2 separate regions of the Homo sapiens genome follow, and region 1 is linked to region 2. Evidence: promoter capture Hi-C in human tissues and cell types (Jung and others, 2019). All regions are on one chromosome and are shown on one strand. Each heading gives the region's core, a stretch centred on a gene start or on the middle of the fragment in contact. The rest is flanking DNA. Distances are from core to core; before and after follow the strand shown. Region 1 holds the start of ADM5 (adrenomedullin 5 (putative)). Region 2 holds the start of SPACA4 (sperm acrosome associated 4).

Region 1 (4,778 bases), core at 2,041-4,540, 1.1 Mb after region 2:
TAGTGGAGGGGGTGACAGAAACGGGCAGAAGGAACCATGGGGACACGCGTGTTCCAGTGTGAGCTCTGCCATGTAGCAGTCACGTGGCCTTGGGCAAGTGACCTGAGTGTGCAGTGCCTCAGTTTCCTCATCCACAAAAGGCTGACACGGTCCCTGTCTCCAAAGCTCAATGACAGGGAGGTGACTCGCGGATAGCAGTCCCATCAGCTGTCATGGGGGTGGGCATTCCGACAGAGGGAACGCAAGGGTGGGGTTGGGGGGGGCAGCAGGCCGAGGCCGGCTGACCCGCCCGCGCCCCCAGGCCCCGAGTCCCCGTACACGCACTGGAAGCAGACGGTGTTCTACATGGAGGACTACCTGACCGTGAAGACGGGCGAGGAGATCTTCGGCACCATCGGCATGCGGCCCAACGCCAAGAACAACGTGAGGCTCCGGGCAGCTGGGTGGGAGGGTGGCAGCTAGGGCGGGGAGTGTAGATTGGGGGGGGAGTGGTGGGGGAGGAATGGTGGCAGCGGGGGTAGGGGATGGGGGCAGCCGGGGTGGGGGATGGGGGCAGCTGGCGGGGGCGAGCACCTCTGCCTATTCCCGGGTCCCCAAGCCCCTCAGCCCCATGCCTGTCTACACAGCAGGATTGCTTGAGCATTCACCGGAAGTTATGGGCCTGGGGACCCAGGCTGAAACCCTGCCCTCCTGGTGCTTCCACTCTAGACAAGGGGGTCAGTGACATGGTGATGCCAGTTGGAGGTGACCTCTGTCAGGCTGGGAGCAGGGCAGACAGGTGTTGGTGTAGGTGGGCTCCAGGGCAAGAGGCAGCCCCCAGTAGAGTGCACGGGGTTTTCTAGCCCAGCTGGGAGGCATGAGAGGAGAAAGGCAGCTTTTTGTTTTCTGCTCCCCTTTCTTTTTCCTCCTGAGCACTTGGCAGGAGCTGCCATCACCTGAGATCAGGGGGCTTCCGGGGGAGCTGGGGGGGCTTCTCGGAGACAGGGTCTGGGCAGAGATCCAGTGTGGTGGGTCTGAGCAGGCAGGAGGATGGAAGGCTTGGAGCCTGGAGTCGCCGGGAGTGGTCTGGGTTGGAAAAGTGGGTCCCGGCCGATGGGTGCGAGGGTGGGTGGCACTCAGGGTAGTCATGGAATGTGGACCCTGGGACACCCACGAGCCTGTGACAGCAGCAGTTGTCAACTGGGCAGTTTTACTGCCCCCTCCGCTCCCCGCCCCCCCCCAGGACGTTTGCCACCGTCTGTGGAAACATTTGTGGTTGTCACTCCGGAGAAGGGGTGGTCCTGGCATCTGGTAGGTAGGGGCCAGGGGGCTGGTAAATGTCCTGCAGCCACAGGACCACCCCCTACAAAGACTCATGCAGCCCCCGGGACCACGGCACTAGCTGGGAAACGGATACTGGAGAGGGAGGAGGAGTCCTCGGGCGTTGGTGACTTTGTCTCATCTTCATGTGCTGGAGGGTATGGGGGGAGGAGAGGAAGTGGAGACAGCAGGCTGGACCATTGTGTTTCACTGGAACGTTTGCCTGAGGAGGAAGTGGGCTTGGGAGAGGTTTTCTTTTTTATGAAAGAAGCAATCACTGCATTGCTGATGGGAATCATCCTGATGGAGAAATCCAAGGGCAAGGGACAGCAGCTGGGCTCTACTCCTGAGTGAGTCTAGTGGGCTTGGGGGTGTCCATGTGGTGCTGTCCCTTGGCAGGGTCAGGGCAGCTGCTAGGGTGGGACCAGCAGTTGGGGTCTGCAGCGTGGAGATGGGCAGGAAGCTGGAGCCCGGCTCATCGTCGCATAGCCTGCCTGCACCCGCCCCCCGCCACCACCTCCTGGTGGGTTCCGCCCTCATGCCCCACCTCTCCCTGCAGCGGGACCTGGACTTCACCATCGACCTGGACTTCAAGGGCCAGCTGTGCGAGCTGTCCTGCTCCACCGACTACCGGATGCGCTGAGGCCCGGCTCTCCCGCCCTGCACGAGCCCAGGGGCTGAGCGTTCCTAGGCGGTTTCGGGGCTCCCCCTTCCTCTCCCTCCCTCCCGCAGAAGGGGGTTTTAGGGGCCTGGGCTGGGGGGATGGGGAGGGCACATCGTGACTGTGTTTTTCATAACTTATGTTTTTATATGGTTGCATTTACGCCAATAAATCCTCAGCTGGGGTCTGGCTTTGTTTCCTGGGGGCAAAGGAGGTTTGGGGTTCCTTTCGCAGGTACTGCAGTGCCAGCCTCAGCAGTGGGGGGACCGGCCTTGGCACCTGCTGGTGGCTGCCATTCTGTGGATCTGCGTCTCCCGTCCCCCGTCTCTAGGCCTCTTGCTCCCCTTCCTTGGTTCCTTCTCGGGGTCCCTGTCCTCCACAGCTGTCTCTCAGGGTCTTTGTCCAACTCTTTTCATCCCTCTCCTGGGTCTGCGCCCCTCCCCTCTGCGGTACCCGTGTCCTGCCTAGTAGGGGATGGGGGTGGCTTTCCAGCACAGCCAGCCCTCAAGTTTCCCAGAACAGTCTCCCCACCTCCCCCCAACACTCGACATTGTTCCTCTCTGGCTGTTTTTTCCTGTTCGGGTCCCTTCAAGGCCCAACTGTGCCCAGCCCTCTGCAGCTGGGGACACTGAGTGGGTTGGGGGTGTATGTTTGCAAGGATAGAATTTCTCATGGGGGAGTGGCCCTGCTTCCTCCCCTAGAATGGCTTGGGGCTTAGGGCTGGGGACTTGCCCTCCATGGAGGTCAGTGGGAGTTGCAGCTGTAAGGTGGCAGGGCCTACCCATCTTACAGAGGTGAAGACGAGGTCCCTCTGCCTCTGCTGCAGACATGGCGTCTGCACCCACCCTTCCACCCTCAGGGCCTGGCCACGGGGTCCTGGGTCCCCCACAATACTGTGCACTCGACCTGGTTGACCCAGGACACCCTCCTCGTTGAACAGCCCTGGCTACACCTGCTTCAGTGCAACTGGAGCCCTCACCGGCGAGTGCCTGACACCTCGGCCTTTTCTCTTCCGGAGGGGCGCTCCTCAGTGTGTTTGGGGTCTCCCTCGCTCCACGCCCTCCAGGGGGCCGCATGTGCACTTGCCCTGCATTGCCTGGCCCCCGAGGTTCCAGGGTCCCAACTGTCTACTAACCGGCTTCCCGACAGGGTGAGGGTGAGGTCGCATCTACAACCAGAGCCAGCGCTTCCCCGCCGCCACCCCTTTTCTTGGAATCCCGCTGCTTAGCTACCTGCGGGTGTCATTGGCCCCGCCCCATTTCCCCACGCTTTGAAGGGGGCGAGTCTCCACAGACCTCCTAGGGGGATAGACAGCAGCTGGTGTGACCCCACACACCCAGTGAGGTCTCTGGAGCCGCGGTGCGGGAAGCGGGGACCCGGGTTTGAATCCTGCCCCTCTGGTGTGGTGCGGCCTCTTCCCACAGACTTTTGGCCTCAGTGTTCCCCGCCTGGGAAGTGGGGACTGGCCCTGGTACCTGGCTCCAGAGCTGCACCCAGAGGCGATCAGCCCGGTGCGGGAACGGGGCGGGGTGGCCGCAACTACGGGCCACGGATCCTGACCCGCCCTGCCCACGATGACTATCCACATCCTCATCCTGCTGTTGCTCCTCGCCTTCTCCGCCCAAGGGGACCTGGACACTGCAGCCAGGTGAGAAACCCGGGTGGCAGCAGGGACAGGGCGGGAGGGAGACCGTAAAGGGCGAGCGCCCTCTCCCGGCCGCGGAACGGGCAGGTGATCTGTAAGCCTCCCCGCTGGTCTTGGAGTGCTTGGGTGCCCACCTCCATCACGCTCCATCTCTCAATTCGGTTTGAACCCGGTTTTCTCCCACGCTCCCTCTCCAGGCGAGGCCAGCACCAGGTCCCCCAGCACCGCGGGCACGTCTGCTACCTGGGCGTATGCCGGACCCACCGCCTGGCGGAGATCATATACTGGATTCGCTGTCTCCACCAAGGAGCCCTCGGGGAAGGCCAGCCACGAGCCCCAGGACCCCTACAGCTATGGGCGCCGCCGGTGGCGCGAGGCGGAAGCCCGGCTCGGTTCCCAGGATTCCGGCCTGCAGCGAGGGGGCTAGCGCAGTGCCCAGCTCGCTGGGTGACCTCGGGCACGGCTCGTCCCCTCCTCGGCTTCAGTTTGCCTATCTGTATGTTGGAGCTTCTACTCCACATTTCTTCTCCCCTAACTCCAGCCCCTGAAACCGTCTTCCCCAGTCCCTCCCCGGGCTGCGACTAGGTTGGACCTAGAAGCACACGGGACCAGGCTGGGCGAAGAACACTGACGCCCAGAGCCGAATAAACAAGAGTTCCGTGTTTCAGTCTCTGCTTCTCTGTACCTATTTCGACCTCTCAGTCGAGGCTGGGTCTCTAATATACCTTTCTCTATTAGCCATGCTGCTTCTCCCTCACGGAAGTCCCACTGTCTACCTTGAATCCAACCCGCTGTGGCGCCTTTCTTGCCAACTCAATCCATGCACCTTCCGTGGGTGGTTTTGGCGGGCCGTCCTGACCCCCAAACATCCCTCCTCCCTCCCTGGCGTGAAAGGGCTGAGATTTGCTCCGGCACCCTACGCGCCTGACGTTATAATGCACCTGGGGTGGGCTGCGACCTCCCAGCTGAGCCTTGTTCCTCGAAGAGACAGGAGACTAAGAGACAATGAGCTGAGTGAGGAGCCCAGGAACCCGGGTTCCGAACAGCTGCGTAGAATGCGAGCGGCCAAATGGTGGAGAATCTGGCCGGGTAAAAGGAGACGGAGGACTGGGGATCGAACGGATGTAGGGGATTGGACGCCGTGGCTCGAAGGGGGCGGGGATAGAACGCGGG
Region 2 (4,742 bases), core at 416-2,915:
GCTCTGCCTGGTCCCCACTTAGGAACACCTCAATGCCTCAGTTTTCCCCTTTGGAAAGAGACGGAATTCACTTCCGGACACTAACAGGGATTGTTTTAAGACCCAGCTGCTTCCTAGAATGACTGCCATTTAGTCAGTCCTGGCTGTGCACCAAGCTCTCCACGTTGCTGCTCCCTGCAGTGCTCATCTGCAATCTGGAGCAAAAACCTAGGAAGGCCGTGTGCAGTGGCTCATGCCTGTAATCCCAGCACTTTGGGAGGCCGAGGCAGGAGGATCACTTGAGGCTAGGAGTTTGAGACCAGCCTGGGCAACATAGCAAGACCCCATCTCTATAAAAAATTTTACAAAATTAGCCGGGCATGGTGGTGCACGCCTATAGTCCCAGCTACTCTGGAGGCTCAGGGAGGAGAATCACTTGAGCCTGGGAAGTTGAGGCTGCAGTGAGCCAAGATCGCGCCACTGCACTCCAGTCTAGGCAACAGAGCAAGATCCTATTTTTTTTTTTTTTTGAGATGGAGTCTTGCTCTATTGCCTAGGCTCAAGTGCAGTGGCACAATATTGGCTCACTGCAACCTCCACCTCCCAGGTTCAAGCCTCCCAAGTAGCTGGGATTACAGGTGCACACCACCATGCCCAGCAAATTTTTGTATTTTTAGTAGAGATGGGGTTTTACCACGTTGGCCATGCTGGTCTTGAACTCCTGAGCTCAGGTGATCCACCCGCCTCGGCCTCCCAAAGTGCTGGGATTACAGGCGTGAGCCACTGCGCCCGGCCAATTTTTTAAAATAAAAAATAAAATTAAGAAATAAATACAACATAGGAATATTCAAATGACTGAATTTGAATCAAGCCCCCTGCACGTAGCTGGCCCTGAGAGCCTGTGAGCTGTGGGGGCCGGTGCCCTAACACTTCCTGTCATCACAGTAGTTGTTATTGAAAGCACCAAGTGCCAGGCGTGGTGTGGTGGCTCACGTCTGTAATCCCAGCACTTTGGGAGGTCGAGGCGGGCAGATCACTTGAGCTCAAGAGTTCGCAACCAGCCTGGCCTACATGGTGAAACCCTGTCTCTACTAAAAATACAAAAATTAGCCAGATGTGGTTGCATGCGCCTGCAGTCCCAGCCACTCGGGAGGCTGAGTTACGAGAATCGCTTGAAGCTGGGAAGCAGAAGCTGCAGTGAGCTGAGATCACGCCACTGCACTCCAGCCTGGGTGACAGAGTGAGAGACTCCGTCTCAAAAAAATAAAAGCAAGCAAGCACTGAGCATGAATCCTGGCACACAGCAAGTGCTCAGTTAATACACCCTCTTCTTTCCCAGCCTCTTTGGAATTCAATGAACCTGGCTCTCATCCTGGCTCGGGGACCCTGGATACATCACTTTCCCCAGCCTTAGTTTACCCATCTGGAATATGGGGTCACTATGGGAGGTGTGAGGCTGAAGTCAAGCCCTTGGCGGGTGTACAGCACAGAGAATGCGGACAAGCTTGTGGCCAGCGTCCTCTGGGTTCAGGGCGTCTTCACCTTGGCAGGGATGGCAGAGCCCTCTTGCGCCCCGGCAGGTCGGCGGGGCAGGCCACCCCTTGGATTGTGACACCCACTCCTCTCACCTATGACCTCATCCCCAGAGCGGCCAGTGGGAACCCTGAGGGATCTGTGAGATCACTCATTCCATTCACAGACTCTTGTTGGGCAGCAGCCACCCGCTCACCTCCATCCCCAGGACTTAGAGGGACGCAGGGCGTTGGGAACAGAGGACACTCCAGGCGCTGACCCTGGGAGGCCAGGACCAGGGCCAAAGTCCCGTGGGCAAGAGGAGTCCTCAGAGGTCCTTCATTCAGCGGTTCCGGGAGGTCTGGGAAGCCCACGGCCTGGCTGGGGCAGGGTCAACGCCGCCAGGCCGCCATGGTCCTGTGCTGGCTGCTGCTTCTGGTGATGGCTCTGCCCCCAGGCACGACGGGCGTCAAGGACTGCGTCTTCTGTGAGCTCACCGACTCCATGCAGTGTCCTGGTACCTACATGCACTGTGGCGATGACGAGGACTGCTTCACAGGCCACGGGGTCGCCCCGGGCACTGGTCCGGTCATCAACAAAGGCTGCCTGCGAGCCACCAGCTGCGGCCTTGAGGAACCCGTCAGCTACAGGGGCGTCACCTACAGCCTCACCACCAACTGCTGCACCGGCCGCCTGTGTAACAGAGCCCCGAGCAGCCAGACAGTGGGGGCCACCACCAGCCTGGCACTGGGGCTGGGTATGCTGCTTCCTCCACGTTTGCTGTGACCAACAGGGAGGACAGGGCCTGGGACTGTTCTCCCAGATCCGCCACTCCCCATGTCCCCATGTCCTTCCCCCACTAAATGGCCAGAGAGGCCCTGGACAACCTCTTGCGGCCCTGGCTTCATCCCTTCTAAGGCTGTCCACCAGGAGCCCGGTGCTAGGGGAAGCATCCCCAGGCCTGACTGAGCGGCAGGGGAGCACGGCCCGTGGGTTTGATTGTATTACTCTGTTCCACTGGTTCTAAGACGCAGAGCTTCTCACATCTCAATCAGGATGCTTCTCTCCATTGGTAGCACTTTAGAGTCCATGAAATATGGTAAAAAATATATATATATCATAATAAATGACAGCTGATGTTCATGGAGCATTCTTTGTTTTCTTTTCTTTTTCTTTTCCTTTTTTTTTTTTTCTTTTTGTAGAGATAAGGTCCAGCTATGTTGCCCAGGGTGGTCTCGGATTCTTGGGCTCAAGTGATCCTCCCACCTCAGCCTCCCAAAGTGCTGGGATTACAGGTATGAGCCACGGCACCTGGCCAAGCCTGTCTTACGTTACGTGCCACTGAATCCTCACACCAAGCTGGGAAGGTAAACACTCTTTCAAACATTTCAAACATCCTGGTCTCAACTCCAATCATTCTCAAAGTGTGGTCCCTGGACCAGAAACAGCAGCAGCAGCAAGTGGGAACTTCCTGAAAATGCAGATTCTCAGGTCCTGTTCCAGGCACGATGAATGGCAGTGGGGTCCAAAAGCTGTGTATTGTTCTCTCTTTTTCTTTTTGAAACAGGGTTTTGCTCTGCTGCCCAGGCTGGAGTGCAGTGGTGCAATCTTGGCTCATTGCAGCCTCTACCTCCTGGGCTCAAGCAATCCTCCCACCTCAGCCTCCTGAGTAGCTGGGACTAGAAGCATGCTCCATCATGTCTAATTTTTATTTTTTTAAATTTTTGTAGAGATGGGGTCCTGCTATGTTGCCCAGGCTGGTCTTGAAGTCCTGGGCTCAAGCGATCCTCCTGCCTCAGCCTCCCAAAGTGCTGGGACTACAGACATGAACCACCACGCCTGGCCTTTTTCCGTTTTCTTTTTCTTTTCCTTTTTTTTTTTTTTTTTTATTTTTTGAGACAGAGTCTCGCTCGGTCACCCAGGCTTTAGTGCAGTGGCGCGATCTTGGCTCACTGCAACCTCCACCTCCCAGGTTCTAGCGATTCTCCTGCCTCAGCCTCCCGAGTAGCTGGGACTAGAGATGCATTCCACCAGGCCCGGCTGATTTTTTGTATTTTTAGTAGAGACAGGGTTTCCCCATGTTAATCAGGCTGGTCTGAAACTCCTGACCTCGGGTGATCCACCTGCCTCGGCCTCCCAAAGTGCTGGGATTACAGGTGTGAGCCACCACGCCCAGCCCAAAAGCTGTGTTTTAACAAGCGCTCCCAGGGATTCTGGTGCATGCACAGGGTTGAAAGCCACTGTTCCTGAGCAGTGTTCTCAGCTGGGCACCTGTGCTCCCCAGTGGGCATCTGCGCTGTCTGGAGAGGTTTTCGGTTCTCTAATTGGCAGGGAAAGTCGGGGGTATGGGGCGTGTGATGCTACTGACCTCTGCTGGGTGGAGGCTGAAGATGCCGAGGAGCCTCCCACAATGCACCCAACAGCTCCTAAAACAAAGACTTACCCAGCCCGAGCGTGGGTGCCACCCCTGTTGAGGGACCTGGTTCTAGAGGCTCTAACCCTATCAGCCCATGACATAGAGGGGGAAACTGAGGCACAGAGAGGTGAAGTAAGTTGCCTGAAGTCACACAACGAGGAACTGAGAGAGCTAGAATTTGAATCCAGGCCGTCTGGTCCCAGAGGCCACACCCCTCTCCTCCCTAGCTGTGCTGTGACCCTGTGAGGTAGGTGCTGTTATTATTTGCAGTTTCTTTCTTTCTTTTTTTTTTTTTTTTTTTTTTGCTTTTTTGAGATGGAGTCTTGCTCTGTCTCCCAGGCTGGAGTGCGACAGCGCGATCTCGGCTCACTGCAACCTCTCTCCTGGGTTCAAGCAATTCTCCTGCCTCAACCTCCCAAGTAGCTGGGAAGACAGGGTTTCACCATGTTGGCCAGACTGGTCTTGAACTCCTGACCTCAGCCAATCTGCCCGCCTCAGCCTCTCAAAGTGCTGGGATTACAGGCGTGAGCCACCATGTCCGGGCATTTTCTTAGATGCTCAGAGAGGTGGAGTTATTTACCCGAGGCAGAGCTTAGATCCCAATCCAGGTGCTCCTGATTTTGAACAAACCCCACCCCCAAACTGTTTGCCCAGTTTTCCAGATAAGAAAACACCAGGTCAAAGAGAAGCAGACTTACCCAAGACCACTAAACAGGCCAGCACCAGGTCCGGCCGCGGCACCAACCTCCTCCGCAGGGAAGAGTGTTTTGCCCCCATTACACAGATGAGAAAAGAGAGGCCTGGGCAAGGGGATGCCAGCTGTTCTCTGAGCACA

What was found. Contacts are between HindIII fragments. The study calls those that stand out against the background at their distance.
Region 1: a contact is called between the fragment with the promoter of ADM5 here and the fragment with the promoter of SPACA4 in region 2, in 1 of the 25 tissues and cell types used here (aorta).

Annotation. Positions count from the first base shown.
Region 1 is chr19:49,686,304-49,691,081 of GRCh38, forward strand. It overlaps ADM5 (adrenomedullin 5 (putative)), which reads left to right and starts at 3,291. Exons shown (of 2, transcript NM_001101340.2): 1 at 3,291-3,608; 2 at 3,803-4,272. The coding sequence starts at 3,535. The coding sequence ends at 4,190. It overlaps PRMT1 (protein arginine methyltransferase 1), which reads left to right. Exons shown (of 11, transcript NM_001536.6): 10 at 302-423; 11 at 1,859-2,144. The coding sequence ends at 1,942. It also overlaps a transcript of CPT1C not described here. RefSeq lists enhancers at 890-1,631, 1,632-2,372 and a silencer at 3,681-3,750. The HindIII fragment of the contact is 11,781 bases long and covers 1,981-4,778 here.
Region 2 is chr19:48,605,077-48,609,818 of GRCh38, forward strand. It overlaps SPACA4 (sperm acrosome associated 4), which reads left to right and starts at 1,666. Exons shown (of 1, transcript NM_133498.3): 1 at 1,666-2,638. The coding sequence starts at 1,903. The coding sequence ends at 2,277. The region is part of intron 5 of FAM83E (family with sequence similarity 83 member E); the gene reads right to left. The HindIII fragment of the contact is 21,490 bases long and covers 1-4,742 here.